Regions from separate parts of the Homo sapiens genome. Here all the other regions are linked to region 3. The links are contacts of gene promoters, found by promoter capture Hi-C in blood cells and fetal thymus (Javierre and others, 2016). All regions are on one chromosome and are shown on one strand. The core of a region is centred on a gene start or on the middle of the fragment in contact, and the rest is flanking DNA. Distances in the headings are between cores, read along the strand shown.

The links. Contacts are between HindIII fragments. The CHiCAGO score rates a contact against its expected background, and 5 or more counts as called.
Region 1: a fragment that was not itself captured here is called in contact with the fragment with the promoter of H2AC18 in region 3 in 5 of 17 cell types (naive CD8 T cells, naive CD4 T cells, naive B cells and 2 more); the score reaches 7.2 in naive CD8 T cells.
Region 2: a fragment that was not itself captured here is called in contact with the fragment with the promoter of H2AC18 in region 3 in 2 of 17 cell types (naive B cells and M0 macrophages); the score reaches 6.6 in naive B cells.

The regions. Positions count from the first base shown.
Region 1 is chr1:150,044,692-150,047,667 of GRCh38, forward strand. All of the region lies in intron 1 of LOC124904413 (a long non-coding RNA gene), which reads left to right. It also overlaps a transcript of OTUD7B not described here. Among named protein-coding and RNA genes, the nearest start is that of VPS45, 22 kb to the right of the region's middle. The HindIII fragment of the contact is 5,915 bases long and covers 1-2,976 here.
Region 2 is chr1:150,084,409-150,087,663 of GRCh38, forward strand. All of the region lies in intron 10 of VPS45 (vacuolar protein sorting 45 homolog), which reads left to right. Among named protein-coding and RNA genes, the nearest start is that of VPS45, 18 kb to the left of the region's middle. The HindIII fragment of the contact is 2,144 bases long and covers 227-2,370 here.
Region 3 is chr1:149,841,316-149,844,553 of GRCh38, forward strand. It overlaps H2AC18 (H2A clustered histone 18), which reads right to left and starts at 1,435. Exons shown (of 1, transcript NM_003516.3): 1 at 903-1,435. The coding sequence starts at 1,383. The coding sequence ends at 991. It also overlaps the pseudogene H2BC19P and a transcript of H4C15 not described here. The HindIII fragment of the contact is 2,631 bases long and covers 90-2,720 here.

The DNA of each region.
Region 1 (2,976 bases), core at 274-2,773, 200 kb after region 3:
AATAATAATAAATAAAAATAAAGTTCAAGGATATGTAGCAAAGAAAATCACTTACAACAACCCAACATTATAGTCTGTCTATAAAATAAACACATCTACTCCTTCCAACTTCATAAGGGTGAAAAATAAGAGTTTAAAATATGAAGCAGAAACAAGATGTATTAGTTACCTGTGAAAATAGCTCTCTGATTGTGTGCCTTTAAATTGGCAGGGGAAAAAAAGAAACTCAGTTTTAAAACAGAAAACTTATATATCACTATGTCTATATACTTGTTATAGCCAACGTCCCTAAACAGAAAATTGTTCAGTGGTGCAAGGGAATTAGTAATAATACCAATAATTATTAGATTCAGATTTCAAATCCCATATGAAAATAAACAATATTATTTGTTCTTAAACTAAATTTTTTTTTTTTTTTGAGATGGAATCTTGCTCTGTCACCCAGGCTAGAGTGCAGTGGCATGATCTCACCTCACTACAACCCCCGCCTTCCAGGTTCAAGCGATTGTCATGCCTCAGCCTCCCAAGTAGCTGAGATTACAGGTGTGTGCCACCGTGACCGGCTAATTTTTTTGTATTTTTAGTAGAAATAGGGTTTCACCATGTTGGCCACGCTGGTCTCGAACTCCTGACCTCTAGTGATCTGTCCAACTCAGCTTCCCAAAATGCTGAGATTACAGGTGTGAGCCACCGTGTCCAGCCAGAAAACCTTTGTGGAGGTGCTGGGGATTGACCCAGGGCCTCATGCATGCTAAGCGTGCGCCCTACCACTGATCTACACCCCCTTTAATTCTTAACATCAGAAATATTATTCAACAGACACATATCAGAGTTGAGGGAAATTATTGGAAAATTGAGACCAAAAAAAGCATACAGAAAGTTAATTTATTTTCTAGACAGAACTCTGCTAGTATTAGAATCAAATACTTTTAATTAGATAGTAATTTACTTGCTTTCTTGTAACTTATGGCCATCTTCTCTAGTCTGTTTGTTACAGTCCTACACATATTAAATAGCAAAAACAAACTAATTATATATTTTGCATGATCAGTATGTTACAACATTAAGATCAGACTAATAATACAAGTCACCTACTCCATTGCCAATTTTTATACTCCCTGCAATCTTACAGCACATCCTCATATGAACAAAAAGCCTTTATATTTATCTTACAGAGGATATAAACATCAATTTATAAAAAAGAGACACAAGCCTTATATAGTTAAAAGTAATATAATTAACATGATTACAAAAACATTTCTAATAAAGCAGAGGAAATAATTATATTGCTTGTAGTTCTAGTAAGAGTTTATTGAACCATTAAAAATAATTTCAAAACAATAAAATACAAAGGCAAATATCCAAATAGTTTTGTATGGATCTAGCATTCACTTTTCCTTGATCCAACCTAGTTTTAATTCCTATGGCCTACAGGATGGCTTAGATAAGGAAGAAGCTAAAAATTGGCTGTTACAGAGTTGCAGTTGTGTGGCATATGGGTGATCTACGTAACTGAAGTTGAAGGGAGAAATGCAATCTTCCCCCAAAACCTGCTTTTCCTTCAGTCCACTGTCACAATCCTGAGTCCAGCTACTCTCTCAACATCTCCATCTCCCTGGCTAAAACCTCCCATCTCTCATCTGGGTTGTTGTAAAGCCTCCTAACTAACCTCACTTCTTTTGCCTTTGCCTGCTATGATTAATTCCCAACCCAGTAGCCAGACTGATCCTCTCCTCAAAGCTCTCCAGTGGCATTTTTTTTTTTTTTTTTTTTTGAGACAGAGTCTTGCTCTGTCACCCAGGCTGGAGTACAGTGGGGCGATCTCGGCTCACTGCAACCTCCACCTCCCGGGTTCAAGTGATTCTCCTTCCTCAGCCTCCTGAGTTGCTGGGACTACAGGCGCATGCAACCACACCTGGCTAATTTTTTTTTTTTTTTTAGTAGAGACGGGGTTCCACCATGTTGGCCAGGATGGTCTCAATCTCCTAACCTCGTGATCCACCCGCCTCGTCCTCCCAAAGTGCTGGGATTATAGGCGTTAGCCACCACGTCTGGCCTCCAGTGGCATCCTTATTCAAAATAAAAGTAAATATCCTAGGGTGGGCATGGTGGCTCACGCCTGTAATCCCAGCACTTTGGGAGGCTGAGGCGGGCAGATCACTTGAGGTCAGGAGTCCAAGACCAGCCTGGCTAACATGGCGAAACCCCATCTCTACTAAAAATACAAAAATTAATTGGACATGGTGGCAGGTGCCTGTAATCCCAGCTACTGGGGAGGCTAAGGCAGGAGCATTGCTTGAACCCGGGAGGCGGAGATTGCAGTGAGCCAAGATCATGCCACTGCACTCTAGCCTGGGCGACAGAGCACAGCTCTGTCTTGGAAAAAAAACAAAGTCAATATCCTCACAACTAGGTCCTACACCAACTATTCCCCATTTTCCATCTTCCGCTGTCAATCACTCAGCTACCCTGGCTGCTTTGCTGTCTTATGAACAGCCCACTCCCACCTCAGGGATTTAGCAATTGCTCTTTCCTTTATCCAAAAAACTTTCATCTGGATTACATGTATCTTATTCCTTTAACATCCTTCAGGTTTTTGCTCAATGTTCATTTTTCAGCAAATGATTCCCTAACCACCACATTTATAACTGCAAACCTTATGCATCTCAACACTCCCCCCAACCTCCTTCTTTAAACTTGTTTTTGCTCTATAGAACTTACTACCACATGATTACTATATATTATGCTTATTTTGTGTACTGTCTGATTGTCCTCACTAGATTGTAAGAGAGATTAGGGATTTTTGTCTGTTTTTTTCAATCCCATATTTCCATGGCTAGCACCTAATAGGTATTCAACAAATGCTTGTTGAATATATGAACATCCTCTATAAATCCTCTAGTAACCAGTGTCAAGAACTACATGCCTATGTAGGTGACCCAAACACTTCCTCTAAGAACTGTATAGAAAAATAAT
Region 2 (3,255 bases), core at 49-2,548, 240 kb after region 3:
TGTACAGCAAGGGGCTGAACTGAAAAACATTTCAAAGGGAGAAGAATTAGACGACAGGCTGGATATAAAGATAGAATAAATCAGAGGTAATCCCATGTTTCCTGAGAAATGACAAAGTATGATGTCACTGACAAGTAATTTAGGACTACGAGTCCTTTAGGAAATAGCCATTTCTAAGCCACTTATAAGAAGCACATTTCCCTGTTAATAGGGCCCTATATTCTAAAGCTTAGCTTCTTTCTTTCCCAGCTACAGTTCCACTTTATTCTATAAAATAATGCCAACCTGTTATATTGGAAACAACTCAGGTTTTGGACCCAGACTGGCTTGGCTTATATCCTACCTCTCCTTACCAAAGTTTCTTTGGGAAAATTACTTGATTTGCCCAAGTCTTGGGGATTATGATTTCAAACTTTCAGACTGTTACGATGATTCAATGAGATATGTAAAATGCTTCACATGTAATAGGTGCTTTGTAAATGTTAGTTCCCTTCCTCTAAGCATGATTTTTTTTTTACACATAGTGCAAACAAAAGAAAGAAGTCTACCTGTGGGTGCTCTAGTTATACCAGGGTCTTTACTGGGACTTATTGTTGTTGGGTTTTGGATCAGAACCTAAAGTCGCATTCTTTTTAATCACTAAATAGTATCCTTTGTAAAGATGTATCCTAATCTATTTAACTTGGCCTTTAAACAACACTACTAATAGTATTTTATAGTTGTTTTGTGGGCCTAATAGAAATGTCCTGATATTTACCACAAAAAATGAGTTTTCTGCCTCTTATTAAATAAAAAACAAAATTGTGTCCCGTAACTAAATTTAAATTTCTTATATTTCTTTATCATTTGATTTTTCCCTTGAAAACAGTAGAACCAGACTTAATCACTAGCCAGTTTTACTGTCTTTATTTGTATCTCTCTACATGTGGAAAGCAATTAGAAAAAGTTCTTGTAATAACTTGTCTGAAACTTTATTTTTGTGTTCACTTTAAAAGAAAAATAGTCACTTTAAAAATATAAATTCTATTTGTGATCCACTTTTTATTTTTAGAACTTATCTTTTGAAGGTTTTCTTGTCTAGGGTATTGGGATTTTACAGTGAGCAGTTGATTTGGAGTCCCCCATCATAAACGACTTATTTGGCAACATAACTTAAATAGTCTATAAAGGGATCTTTTGTTTGATAGTAAGTGGATGTCAGGGGCCTGACTTCTAGAGGGGTTATAGCATTCCTTGGCTTGACCTTAGATGATAATACGTCATGAAGCAATGAAATGAGGTTTGTGAGTAGAGATGGGGTTTGCTTTATTGAATAGTATCATGACAAGAAAAAAAAGCATGTATTGCTAAAAGTTAACTTAAAAATTGCTGCCATTCTAACCATTATTTTGTAGGCTAATGAAAATTTCATTTAGAAAGAATTTCACTAGAACCAAAGTGAAATTTACTACCACTGAAACATATACATATCCTCAGAAGAGATTTATTAATTAGTAATGAAGATTTGCCATACCATGAAGAAAAGCATCTTTAGAAAGTGAGCAATTCCACCCTTACCATCCTCCCTATACCCTGCCCCCCATGCCCAGCCTGTGTTGTCATATCACAGTTTTTCATTTGGAGAGAGGAACCAGTCTATTTTGTATTTTTTCCTGACCTTTCATAAAGATCTCAAATCATCCTGTTAATGATACATAATAAGGACTCAATAAATATTTATTAGAAAAATGAGGAGGAAGAGCTCTATTTGAAGCAGTATAGAGTAGTGGCTAAGAGCTTGGGCCTTTGATGGCTTGGGTTTGAAAATAATTCCTAACCACTCTAAAACTCAGTCCTTTTGTCTATAAAGGGGGAAAAATAATAGTACTTACCTCAGAATTGTTGTGAGAGTGCAATGAGCTAATACATGTAAAACACTTATGGTACTTGGTACTTACAGCTTTCAAGAAATATTAACTACCAACATTAAGAGTATTATTATTTGATGGTACATTTAATTTTCTTAATGGCATCCAAGACATGTTTTTTAGTTCAGTGATAGCCTTGTATCTCTCTGATTTCAGAAAAGTGTTTGGTTTTTTTGTGTGTGTGTTTTGTTTTGTTTTGCCACTCATTAAAATTATAAGAAAAGTGGTTGGGACACATTGAACTGACTGACAATTTTACTTTGATTAATTAAATGTAAAAATGATCCTTTTACTCTAAAACAACATTTAGCCAGTATTTTAGAAATAGTATTGATCAGCAGAAGATCTACTGCAAAGCTCAATTTTATGTTGACTAGTCATTAAGAAAAGGAATACTGGCTCCGATGTATTTACCAGTCAGTAGAATTGGGTCTTGTCTGCTTTCTATCATTTTTCCCTGATAAGCTTTTTATATTCCCACAACACTGTTCTCTCAAACTGTTAGGCTCATTTTTGTCAGATCAGCATGTGGAAGTCTTCTGCCAATTCCATCTTACTGTCCTAATCTGTTGGTTTATTTTGTTATTCTCTGACTTTACTACATTAATATAGTAGATAACAAAGAAGGGATCCTGTTCTTTAGGTTAAACTAAAACAAAAAAAAAGACGGAGACTATCTTTATTACCAAGACCAACTGTAATCTGTATAATAGTTTGAAATGTGTGTATGTCATAATGATTTCTTCTTGCTGTGCTGCTTTATCATAGTTTTGATAGAAGAAAACAGAAAAGTAAAAAAAGATTTAGCCAGAAACAATGGAAGAATCTCTAAATATCAGAAAAGAAGAATGGTTTTCTCGTTGATGTCTTATAAATGAATGTTAGTTCCTTTAGGAAACTTGATCTCCAAAGACACTATTTTTGCTTTGCTTTGCTTTGCTTTTCCTATTCCTTGATTACGCCCACACAAATGTTAGAGTTCAGTGCAAGGTTTTCGAATCCTGTCTTCTTAAGTAGATGACAATTTTCTGTTTTGCTCTTTACTCAGTCATTGTTATAATGTGACAGTGTTCTTTTCTAATAGTCACAAGGCTGATGGAAAATTTAATAAGAGAAACCAAAAAATTATGTAATTCAGTTAATTTCCAACAGATAAATACTACCGTGTAGCATATAACTTGCTTTGTAATTATAAGCCTCTCTGATTCTTTTTTCTCCTCTTCTCTGGTTAGTGCCCTGAAATCTCAATGTAATGTATGCCACTGTCAATCAAGTTGACAAGTCAAGTAGTTATGAGGGAAATCCTTCAAAATGAAGTCAAAGGATAAAGTGGGATCAAGGCAGACAA
Region 3 (3,238 bases), core at 185-2,684:
CCTAAAGTCACCGGTTGGCTTGGGCAGATTCCTCCCTAATCCCGCCCACCCCGCCTCACTTTCTACTTACCAGTTGGCGAAGTTTCGCAAGCTTGTTTTTCCCCTTTCCTTCAGGGTGAAAGTCATTTTCCATTGCAGCTTTGTCAGATTGTTCCCTTTCCGCCCTTCGCTTCCTTAGAACACACTGCCCGCAATACCCCCCCTTTCTTGCTGCGCCCTACAGCTCCCGCGTGGAACCTCATTCTTCCATTTGCCCCCCGCCCCCAGTTGCTACTTGGCGGATCGTTTTTCGCCTGTCGGGTGCCTTTTGGGTGGGAGAGGTGCCCGCCCCCAGGACGCAAGATTCCGCCTCCGAGGCCCTTACTCTCCGCCGCCAGGGCGCTTTGGAAAACAAAACAGAAACTAAGACTTAAGTCAGCTCAGTGAAGCCAAGACCCAGCTCCGCCACACTAGCGAGCACTACCCGCTCAGGGCCCTCCCCATCGGGGGTGGGGACGAGGAGCACGTCCCGCTGGTGCCAGACTAGGTCTAAGTGTCCGGCCATAGCCTGCGGAAACCACTAGGGAAGCGCGCGCTCCGCGCGCAACACTTCAGCGCGTTGGGTACTGCCCGCGGCGCTGGTGTTTGTGACTGTGTGGAGCGGACCGTGGCGGCGCCCAGGACGTTTGGTGCCTGCACCTGCCCTGGGAAGTCCTAGGACTGGGGACCCACTCATCGAAGAGCCAAGGCAGTTACGTGCTCCAGATGGAAGACGGCGCGCACACACACACACCCCGCCCCGCCCCGCCCCGTCCCGTCCCGTCCCGTCCCGTCCCGTCCCGTCAGCTCCAGGTTCGCTATTCACTACTGAGGAACGCTGGACTGAGAGTGGCCAGCATTAACAACTCTTTTATTTGAAAACGTGGGTGGCTCTGAAAAGAGCCTTTTGAGTTCACAGGTGCCCCTTCGAGACGCGGGCCGGGCTGGGCCCACTTGGGCCGGACGTCAGCCTCACTTGCCCTTTGCCTTGTGGTGACTCTCCGTCTTCTTAGGGAGCAGTACGGCCTGGATGTTAGGCAAGACGCCGCCCTGGGCGATGGTGACTTTGCCCAGCAGCTTGTTCAGTTCCTCGTCGTTGCGGATGGCCAGCTGGAGGTGACGAGGGATGATGCGCGTCTTCTTGTTGTCCCGAGCCGCGTTGCCCGCCAGCTCCAGGATCTCGGCGGTCAGATACTCGAGGACCGCAGCCATGTAGACGGGCGCGCCGGCCCCCACTCGCTCCGCGTAGTTGCCTTTGCGCAGCAAGCGATGCACTCGCCCTACCGGGAACTGAAGGCCAGCGCGGGACGAGCGCGACTTGGCCTTGGCGCGGGCCTTGCCTCCTTGCTTGCCACGACCAGACATGACAGCGATAGTAGTCACCGAGAGAAACTCCTGCCTGGCGATCGGGAAAGTCGCCGAAAACGCCGCTGCTTCACCTTTTTATAGACAGAACGGCGATTGTCCACGGAGCACTTTGATTGGCTCAAGCAAATTTTGTCCCGATAGCCAATAGGATAGCTCAGCCAGAATCCACTCATTTACATAATCTCGTCTCCCTCGCATTGCGCGCCGCGGAAAACTCGCGAACCATAACGCAGCGTCATGCGCACAGCCTCTGTAAGTACACAGTCGTTTCCGGTAGACCCCGAGCCTACCGCTCTGCTTGCGTTCTCGGGGGTCGGTGTCGGTCTTGGGTCTGGCCATGCCTGAGCCTGCAAAGTTCGCGCCGGCTCCCAAGAAGGGCTCCAAGAAAGCCGTCACCAAAGCCCAGAAGAAAGACGGCAAGAAGCGCAAGCGCAGCCGCAAGGAGAGCTACTCCATCTACGTGTACAAGGTGCTGAAGCGGGTCCACCCCGACACCGGCATCTGGTGCAAGGCCATGGGCATCATGAACTCCTTCCTCAACGACATCTTCGAGCGCATCGCGGGAGAGGCGTCCCGCCTGGCGCACTACAACAAGCGCTCCACCATCACGTCCCGGAGATCCAGACGGCCGTGCGCCTGCTGCTGCCCGGCGAGCTGGCCAAGCACGCCGTGTCCGAGGGCACCAAGGCGGTCACCAAGTACGCCAGCTCCAAGTGAGTCCCTGCCGGGACCTGGCGCTCGCTCGCTCCCTCCCTCCCTCCCTCCGCGGGTCGCCGGCTGCTTTGTCTCCAAAGGCTCTTTTCAGGGCCACTTAACCCCGTTAGTGAAATAAGCTGTTTTCCCACTGCTTACTGTGAGTTCTACTTAGGGGTTTTCCCTCAGCACCTATCCCTTTTCCTGCAGATGATGGGAGAGGAATATAAGATAAAGCTATAAGATGTAGCTTGGTCGAGAACTACCTTGTAGTGACAGGGTCATGTGCACATAATTTGCCTTTTCCAAAGTGAGACGATATGCTACGGGTGCGGTCAATGTAAATCTGCTCAGGAGAGTCAAGGGAAAAAGTGTTAACTGCATATTGAGCTCGCAAAATTGTGTAGTAACCTGAAAATATTCCTAATAGTTTTGCGACCAAGCCTCACCATATAAACTTTCCTTCCGCACCTGTAGACCTCCATTCTGTGGTTGAAGCAATTTTTGGTTTATATAGCTCTCTTGTCTCAATTTGGTATTCCTTTCAGGTACTGTGAGTCTATAGGTATTTATTTCTGGGTTTCAAGACGTTAAATGCCATCAGAATTGAGTAATGCAAAGGCTGCTGTCATGGATAGTAAAGCTTTTTAGTCAAGTGCTGATAGACAATTCCCCATTGTTATCGTTGGGTATTTTACAATTTTCTGGGCAAGAAATGTAATGAAAAATTAAGTAAGTTTTAAAGGCCTTCGTCTTTGAGACTGGATACCTAAAACAATAGTGTTTCCTAAACAGTTAAAACTTATTTAACCCTGAAGCTTTCGAGACACACAAATATATACAAATATATATTGTATATTTCTTAAACCCCACATAGTTCCACTGATCTAAATCACTGGGGGCGAGAGGCAAGGATAGACAATCTATGACACAACACCAGGTGATTCATAAGTTTGGTAACCACTGACATTTGATTATGCAGTTGCCATATTCCTTAGTAAGAACCTGGTCACAATTTTCACTCACTACCCCAGGCAATTCCCCCTCCCCACACCCCCCTTTTTTCTGAGAATTTCAGTGAGATATACAAAAGTTTCATTTAATCCTTTATTAATTCCAGACTTTATATATTTTTATTAGGATTTAAAATACATTTCAA